Linked DNA regions of Homo sapiens: region 1 is linked to region 2. The links are contacts of gene promoters, found by promoter capture Hi-C in blood cells and fetal thymus (Javierre and others, 2016). All regions are on one chromosome and are shown on one strand. The core of a region is centred on a gene start or on the middle of the fragment in contact, and the rest is flanking DNA. Distances in the headings are between cores, read along the strand shown. Region 1 has its middle 25 kb from the start of RPL38. Region 2 holds the start of SDK2 (sidekick cell adhesion molecule 2).

The links. Contacts are between HindIII fragments. The CHiCAGO score rates a contact against its expected background, and 5 or more counts as called.
Region 1: a fragment that was not itself captured here is called in contact with the fragment with the promoter of SDK2 in region 2 in 6 of 17 cell types (M1 macrophages, M2 macrophages, M0 macrophages and 3 more); the score reaches 9.1 in M1 macrophages.

What each region holds. Positions count from the first base shown.
Region 1 is chr17:74,176,776-74,181,251 of GRCh38, forward strand. No RefSeq gene overlaps it. Among named protein-coding and RNA genes, the nearest start is that of RPL38, 25 kb to the right of the region's middle. RefSeq lists an enhancer at 3,192-3,768. The HindIII fragment of the contact is 6,389 bases long and covers 1-4,476 here.
Region 2 is chr17:73,642,617-73,646,593 of GRCh38, forward strand. It overlaps SDK2 (sidekick cell adhesion molecule 2), which reads right to left and starts at 1,829. Exons shown (of 45, transcript NM_001144952.2): 1 at 1,409-1,829. The coding sequence starts at 1,472. LOC124904054 (a long non-coding RNA gene) reads left to right here and starts at 2,858. Exons shown (of 2, transcript XR_007065893.1): 1 at 2,858-3,078; 2 at 3,205-3,488. The HindIII fragment of the contact is 5,171 bases long and covers 1-3,487 here.

The sequences.
Region 1 (4,476 bases), core at 1,893-4,392, 540 kb after region 2:
GATGGGCACAGCCCAGGCCCTGTTATCCCCCTAGGACCATCTAGACCTTCCCTCTCCGCCAGCCCTTCCCAGGCTCCCCCTTCCATCCATTAAGAAACACTGGCATCTAGTGGTTGTGTGAGGGACCTGCAGCGCAGACCCGGCTTCCAAGAACAGGGCCCATAGATGGAGAAGCCTCTGACAGCCCTATCTAGAAACAAGGAGCCCCGTATTCCATACTGCCCTCTGCAGCATCCCTCCCTCTCCCTCTGAAGAACCCCCAAGACCCCCAAACAACATGGGAGTCAAGAACCAGTGTTGAAATGGCCATGTTGCCCATCCTTGCTGAAGACCACCCAGACACCTCCCTGGTGATGAGGAGGGGAGAGAACCTGTGGATGAAACACCCCATGGCCAATCCACAAAGTGAGTCATTAGGAGCTGAGCACAAGCCCAAATTCCAGACAAATAGGACAGCTTCCTACCACGGTGGCTGCCAATCTGCCAGCCACTCCATCATGTGACCCCCCCCCCCAGACACTTAGTCAGCACTCCCAGGTGCCCAGCATCATACCAGGCTGTTGACAGTGTGTGCCTGCATGTGTGTGTGCATGGATGAGCACAGGGAGAGATGTGTGCAGAGGAAAGAAGAGGCACACAGCATGAGTCACTGGCAGACATAAGCAAGTGAACCATAAAATAATCTAAATTCATTTATTCAACACATACTTCCCAACACCTGCTGTGCACCAGAGAGAGCTGCTCCCAAGCCACCAAGGGCTCACCCCAACCCTACCACCTGACAGCTACCTGAAAATAGTCTACCCCGCACTCCTACCCTCCAGTTAACCTACTTTGCATACGTTAAAGACTGTTTTACCATTGGCTTGCATCTCTGCATCCCCTGTAGCTAGGTCTACCCCGCACTCCTACCCTCCAGTTAACCTACTTTGCATACGTTAAAGACTGTTTTACCATTGGCTTGCATCTCTGCATCCCCTGTAGCTAGCACACAGAAGGGGCCTAATATGTGCTTATTGAAGTCATTAATCCAGTCCAGCGCCTGCCAAAGCGGGAATCCCTTCTGATAACGTCACCGATGGCTGCTCTCCCAGCCCCCTCAAGGGCCACCGGTTATTCCGTATGCTGTTGTGTCCGTCAGGTTTCTGTGGCAAGGGACAGAACAGCAACTCGGATTCACTGGAGTAGAGAAGGGAGCTGCACAGGCAGAGAGAGCAGAGTTGGGTGCTGGCAGGTGCGGATTGAGGGTAAGAAAGAGAACGGAGTCAGGTGCTGGCAGGCCTGGATGACCACATCTGGTTTTCCCATCCTTTTATTCTGTTTTCCTTAGCCCCCTGCCATGCCCATATCCCCATCTCCAGACTCTGCTTCTGTTTGTTGCTGGTCCTAGCCTGCCCTTCTGCATACCAGCTGCCTTCATGCAGCAGGAGGAAGGGAGATGGCCACAGGCTCTTCCAGGCTTGCACGATCCTAGCACAGGATCCCAGAGGCTCCCTCTCCCTCTCCTGTTGAACATATCTTTTTTTTTTTTTTTTGAGACAGCGTTTTGATCCTGTTGCTCAGGCTAGAGTGCAATGGTGCAATCTCAGCTCACTGCATCCTCCACCTCCTGGGTGCAAGTGATTCTCCTGCCTCAGCCTCCCAAGTACCCAGGTAGCTGGGATTACAGGCACCTGCCACCACGCCAGGCTAATTTTATGCTTTTTTAGTGGAGATGGGGGTTTGCTATGTTGGCCAGGCTGGTCTTGAACTCCCGACCTCAGAAGATCCACCCGCCTTGGCCTCCCAAAGTACTGGGATTACAGGCGTGAGCCACTGTGCCCGGACATATCTTGAGGAATATCTAAATCTCAGGAATGACTCTGTCTGGACCAGTTCCGATCCCTGAGTCCCCACTGCCCAACCTCCTGTCCATTCTTAAGGCCTGAGAGACAGGTACAATGTCCCAGGGCACACATGTCTGCCCCTGTGGTCAAGGGGAGGGGAAAGGACACTGTTACTACCTGCCCATCAGAATTGTGTGCAATGGGAAGTAGGACAGAAGAATCTTCCAAATGAGGGAGGGTATCTTACCAGGAAGAGGGAAGGAGACATGCCGAGAAAGTGCAGTGTTTCAACAGTGTCCCCCAAAACATTCACTTCCATCTGATCCTCAGGATGTGACCTAATTTGGAAATAGGGTCTTTGCAGATGTAGTTAGGGTGAGGATCAAGCAGAGATTATCCTCTTGATAATCTCTTTGAAGGGTGTTTTGGGGGGCCAGCCGTGGTGGCTGACGCCTGTAATACCAACACTTTGAGAGGCTGAGGTGGGCAGATACCTGAGGCCAGGAGTTCAAGACCAGCCAGGCCAACATGGCCAAACCCCATCTCTACTAAAAATACAAAAATTAGCCAGGCGTGGTGGCACACGTGGTGGCTGTAATACCAGCTATTTGGGAGGCTGAAGCAAGAGAATCGCTTGAACCTGGAAGGCAGAGGTGGCAGTGAGCCGAGATCGCGCCACCGCACTCCAGCCTGAGCAACAGAGACTCTGTCTCAAAAAAAAAAAAAAAAGAAGAGATTATCCTGGATTAGGGTGGGTCCTAAATCCAGAGAGCATGTCCTTTTAAGAGACAAAAAAGGAAACACACAGACACAGGAAGGAGACCACGTGAGGATGGAGGCAGAGACTCGAGTGATGTGGCCACAAGCCGAGGGACACCAGGAGCCCCGCCAGCAACTGGGATAGGCAAGAAGGGACCCTCCCCTAGAGCCTCAGAGGGAGCACAGCCCTTCCGACACCTGGATTTCAGACTTCTGTGCTGAAGAACTGGGAGAGTATCAATTTCTGCTGTTTTAGGCCAACAAATGTGTGATCATTTGTGATGGCAGCTCTTAGAAAAGAACCCAGGAGGCCAAGACCAAAAGTCGTCCACTGTGCCATTTTCTGGGGTGGCAGATGTTTTAGGGGGCTGGAAAGCACCTGGTGGAGGTGTCAGCTCACTTCCCAGAGCCACGCCCACCAGCCGCCACTCTGCTGCAGAGACTCGGCTCAGGACCACTCCTCCCTGAACTGTCTGTCTAGAGCCTGCACACATGTGTGACATGGCAGACCCTAAAGTGTCCAGAGATTTTAGGACCTCCCCACCACCACCACCATCAACCACTTATGAGTAAACTGAGGCCCAGAGAAGCTAAACAGCCTGTCCCCTTCAGATAGTTAGAAGAATTTCTGAATACAAGGAAGAATTCTTCAGTAAAATTGATACATGACCTCTTTCTTTCTTCTTTGTTAAAAAATCTGATTAATTAGTAAAAGCTGGAGTGTTTGATAGTCACTGCTGAGAACACTGGAATCGTCAGGAAGCTAAATGCTTCTGAGCAACGGGCAAAGCGCTGGAGATCAAGCGGGCATTTTTTTGGCCTAAGATTTTGACAGGGTCAAGAGGACGTTCAACCCCTCACTGAGCCTTCGCGCTCCTTGTCTAATTTAATTGTTTGGAAGTCAGAAAGTGCAGTAGCTTTCTAGTTTCTTCTTTTCCAGGCTGAGATTTCATTCCTTGAAACATTCTTCTTTCCTTGATACAGTTTGCAAGGCCTCCACCTTGCTGGCAAGCAATCTGTGCACACACTCACCGCTCCTCACTGCAGCCTCACTGCTGGGCTGCCTGCTCTGGCCCTGCCGGGAGACCTGGGCTGGGGCAGGATGGTGGCCGCTGCCCGGAGGCACGGGGCGGGGAGAGACGTGTTGAGATCAGGCCTCTCCCATCAGCCCCCAGGCCCAGGAGTGGACACAAAACATGGAGAGCCCAGCTCCTGACTCCTCCCATTCCAGCCCTCCCAGCCCCCTCCACAGAGAAATCCAGAGCCCATCCCAGGCAGCTTCTCCAGGCAGCAGGTGGTTCCACAGCCTAATTCAGGACCTCTAATCTCCCCCCAGGTCCCCAGCTTCTGAGACTTTGACGTACTGACTCCTGCCTCCCACCTGCGAAGCCCAGCAAAGCTCTCGCCTTTCTCCCACTCCCAAGAGTTGACAGACTCCAGGCTGCTTTTCAGATGATTTGGGGACCTTCCTGGGAGACACTTTGAAGCCTCTTCAAAGCCAACTGTGTTGTGAGCAGCTGCCAAGCTGCAGAAAGTCCCCGCAGCCCTGGGCCACCTCTAATTACCAAGCCCACCATCACCCTGTCAGTGCCTTTGGTGGGCCCTTCCTCTGCAGCCAGCAGCAAGTGCCCATCGTCACCCAAGAGCAGGAGGAGGGAGAGGAGTCTGCAAGGAACTTCTTCCAAAGAACACTGCACTTCCAAAGAACTGCACCTGAGGAGTTCCCGTGAACAAACGTGAACAACTGGTCTGATATTTACTAAGCGCCAGGGGTGCCCCTGTGCTGTCTCACACTGAGCTAGGCACACGAAGAAAATGGAAGTTGTGCAAAGGCTCAACTTCTGTTCTCCCCAGTTTCTCTCCTCTGCACTTTAGGCTCTGAGCTGCTGAG
Region 2 (3,977 bases), core at 579-3,078:
GTGGCCTTGGGCAAGTCATTTAATGCCATTTGGCCTCAGTTTCCCTATCTGTTAAATGGCTACTAGAATAAGATGACCTCTGAGGTCCTCGCTTGTTCAAAGATTTTATGATGATCATAAAAATAATAACTTTTATTACCCTACATTTATAGGGCTCGTTACAAAATTTCGAAGTGCTTTTATGTAAATTACCTCGTAAAATCCTCCCCTCAGCCCTGTGAGTGAGAGCTGATTATTTTCATCTCTTTGATCTTGGCTCTCTGGATTGCCTGGCGCACGAGGCGGCGTGGGGAGTGGGTTGCAGCCCCCACAGTCCGGACCCCTAGGGTGGGTCTGGCCCCCTCCTGAGCCTGCGAGAGTGAAGGCCTAGCCCTGCGAGTCCTGGAGCTCGGTCCAGGCTTCGTCTCCCTCCGCCCCCAGCAGGCGCCGCTCGGACACCGCTGACACCACTGTCTGGATCGGCGAACCCCAAAGTCGAGGAACCGCCGGTGCAGCCGCCCTTCACCTCGGGGACCTGCCCGGGGACCAGGGGGACGTCTGGGCATCCACCCTCAGGAAGCGGGCAGCGCAGATCACACCTCGGATCCTTCGTAGCACTCCCAAACCCAAAGCCACCAGCCCTTCTCCACCGCGAGGCTGCTCCCGGCAGCCACAGGTCACAGCAGCGAGCGGCTGCACAGACTATCGAGCGAACAGCGGAGGCTGGAGGCAGGGGCGGGGATGCTGGGTGTGGGTGGATGGGTAGGAGGGGAGGCCTCAGACCCTCCCTGTGCACCACCCCCCGGTGGGTCCGCGGCTGCACCCGCGACCTTGGCTCCAGGCCCGCGCAGCGAAGCACCCCCAGCCCCAGCGGCTGGCCGAGCAGCCAGGGGCGGGCTCCCGTACGTGGCCAAGCCGGGCAATTGCTCTCCCCGGGCGAGCAACCCGGCATCCAGCGCTCGCCCACCCCACTCCCTCGCCCCGGGGAGGCCATCGCCTGCCCGGCAGGGGCCCTGCCCTTCCCCGCAGACACCGAGCAGGGAACCAGGAGCTCGGTCTGGGAAGCTCAGCGTAGCCGAGCGTGGAGCCCGGCACGGAATGTCGCTCCCCTCCCAAGCCGGCGCAGGGCAGCCACAGCAGACGGGGGGAGGGGAGCGCCCCTCCCACTTCACCTTGGGCTCTTCTCTGCCTCCCCAGGTCGTCCCCACCTTCCCCCATTCGGAAGCCACAAGTCTCGGAGAGACTGCCCCACCCCCAAAAGAGCCCCAAAACTTGGGAGATGGGGTGTCTTGAAACTCCCTGGAGAGGGCTCTGCCACGGCTAAGCCGGGTGTCCAGGAGGTCACCGTGAGGCCGGCCAGCTCCCGCCGCCCCTCCCCCGCCCACTCTCCCAGCCCCCTCCCTGTCCCCACGTGGGGGTCCCTCCTTACCTTGGGCTCTGGCCGCGCGGATCTGATGCAGAGCTAGCAGTGTCCAGATCAAAAGCCCCCACATGGTGACCAGCCTGGAGAGGGGTCCTCGGGGTCTCCCTTCCCTCCGCCCTGTTTTATAATCCTGGTGGGGTCCGATACCCCGTGGCTTAGTCCCAGGAAACAGTCAGTCTACGCGGCTCCGTGCCCCGGGGTGTAATATGCCCGGGAGGGGCAGCGCTTGGCTACCCCAACCCTTCCTCCTCTTCTGTACTAGTCCGAGCCCGGCAGCGCGCCCGGAAGGCGAGGGGCGAGCAGGGAGAAAGAGGCCAGGCCGCCCTCTCGGACTAGGGCGCCTCTCTCCCTTAGCACCCCAACTCCGACTTCTCCCAAACAGGGCGGCCTCTGCGATCCGGCCGGGTCGCCGGCCGAGCTCCGGAATAAATGGACAACTTCAGGAAACTTCCTCCCGTGGCCACGTTGCCCGCCCCCTCCCCGCCCCCTGGTTGGGTTCTCCCGGCCGACGCAGTCACCGCCGTTCCAGGCGCCGGGCCCCCGGGACCCGGCCAGAGCCGAGCGCAGTGGCAGACGCGGGTGCGGGGGTTCTTTTAGGGGCGCCGGTTTCGGGGGACGCGGTGAGCATAGCGGTCCGAATCTCCCTGGAGCTGAAGTTTTCTTCTCTCTAACTTTGCAGGCAGCATCTGGCGGGGCCGAACCACCCCCTCTGGGCTCCACCGCCCTCGCGCCGAATCGGGAGACGCCGGGTCTCCTCCGGGGGCGCTGGGGCCGGGCGCGCCCTCGGCTCCGCGCCCAGCCGGCTAGCAAACTTTGCGGGTCCCGGAGCCGGGCGCGCAGCCCTGAGCGCCCATGTCCGCGCCAGCCGCGGGGCGGCGGGGGAGGGTGCTGGGCTTCGCGACGCGGGCTGTCGCCGGCGCCCGGGCGCAGAGCCTCCTGCCGGCCCGAGGATGGAGACCGGCGGCTCTGCCCTCCGCCGCGCCCCGGCCGGAGCTCTCGGGAAGACGCACGGAGAGCCCGGCGGGCAGCCCCGGCTCCGGGGACGCGGCGCCCCTTCGGACGCCCGGCGATCGCCGACCTCCCGGGCCGGAGGAGCAACGGCCGCCCCAGCGCCTCGGCCGCCGCTGCCGCTCGCCGAGCCCGCCGCCCTCCGCTTCCCGGGCTCGGCGTCCAGAGAGCCGCTCCTGCCTGCGCCGAGCCGGAGCTGCGGGGGCAGCGTGAGCCGGGGACGAGCGCGGCGGAGGCGGAGACGCGGAGAGGGGGGCCGAGCGCTACCCCGTGGCCGCGACTGGAGAGCAGCCTGCGCGCCGGGAGGGGCGGCGGCGGCGGCGGCGGCCCCGAGCCAGGCCCGGGAGCGAGCCCCGCAGAAATACAATCCGACTGCGCGGCCGCGGGCGCCCAGCGGCTCTGGGACCCGCAGGGGGGCAGCAGTGCCAACCTTCTGCCGCGCCGGGAGAGATGCGCGCGAGCCCCTCCGCTCTCTGCCCAGCCTTTCCTTCCAGCCTCGCTCGCGCCCCTGTCTCAAAGGCCTCATAGGACTCCCAGAGTCTCCTATAGTCGGGAGCCCCCAGCCCCCTTCCGGACATGGAGTGATTGGTGGGGAGGCGGCGGTTGGGAAAAGGGGGTCGGTCAACCGATTGATTCCAGTTTCCCCTTCCCAAGTCAGGCTCTCCAAGGTCTGGAAATGCTCAGGGCGGAGGGGGAGACATCGGGAGGCCTGGGACCTGCAGAAGCCTGAGAAAGTGAAGTTGGTGCCAAGGAGCGTGCGTTCTTTGTTTCTTCTTTTTTCCTTCGGAGCCCAGCTTGTAAAGAGTAGAAGAACCGGACATTGGTGGAGGAATTCAAACAAGAGAGCCCGGAGGCGTCCTCTGCTGTGGCCCAGAGCTAGCGCCTACTCCACGAAGCTCAGCTGGGGTTAACAGGCTTCTGTTAAAATTTCCCGGGCACTGGGAAAATTTCAGGTGCCTTCGCCTCGGTGGACTCCTTTCCCTGCTAACAAAATTATTAAAAATAAGATTTTGCAACTGCGTTGGCATAAGGAAAAGTATATTAATATTGCATATTAAAACATGTTCTTCAGCCTAAAGCTTTACTTATTTTTTTCTGATTTTAAAAGAAATCAAAACATTTTCATGGGCCCCAAAAGACTATGGTCCCTGGCACTGGGCCTGCGGTGCTTAATGCAGAAGTCTACCCTGCGTGTCTGATATTTCTTCTGGGAAATAAAGAGCTAGTGAGACCCTCCATCTTTTGCCACAGTGCTTCTCTCTACTCTCTCTCGTGGTCCTACTTAGTCTGGTCCCCCACGGCTGCCTAGTCTTTCTGGTCCTTGAAGTCTAGGACTGTCACTCACTGATTGCCAACTCTTTCCCAGGCGCACTCCCACCCCAAGGACACCCCTTGTGATTGCTGTGGAATAGGCATAGCCACCGCAAATATATCGTTACTTATATATTCTCCTTTCACCTGCTTTGGAAGAAGAACCGTAAGCATTTATTAAAAATGTCTGAGAAGCTGGCCTGCCTTGCCTACAGCGTTTCAATCACCTAATTCAAACAACATTTCCCCCTGGCAA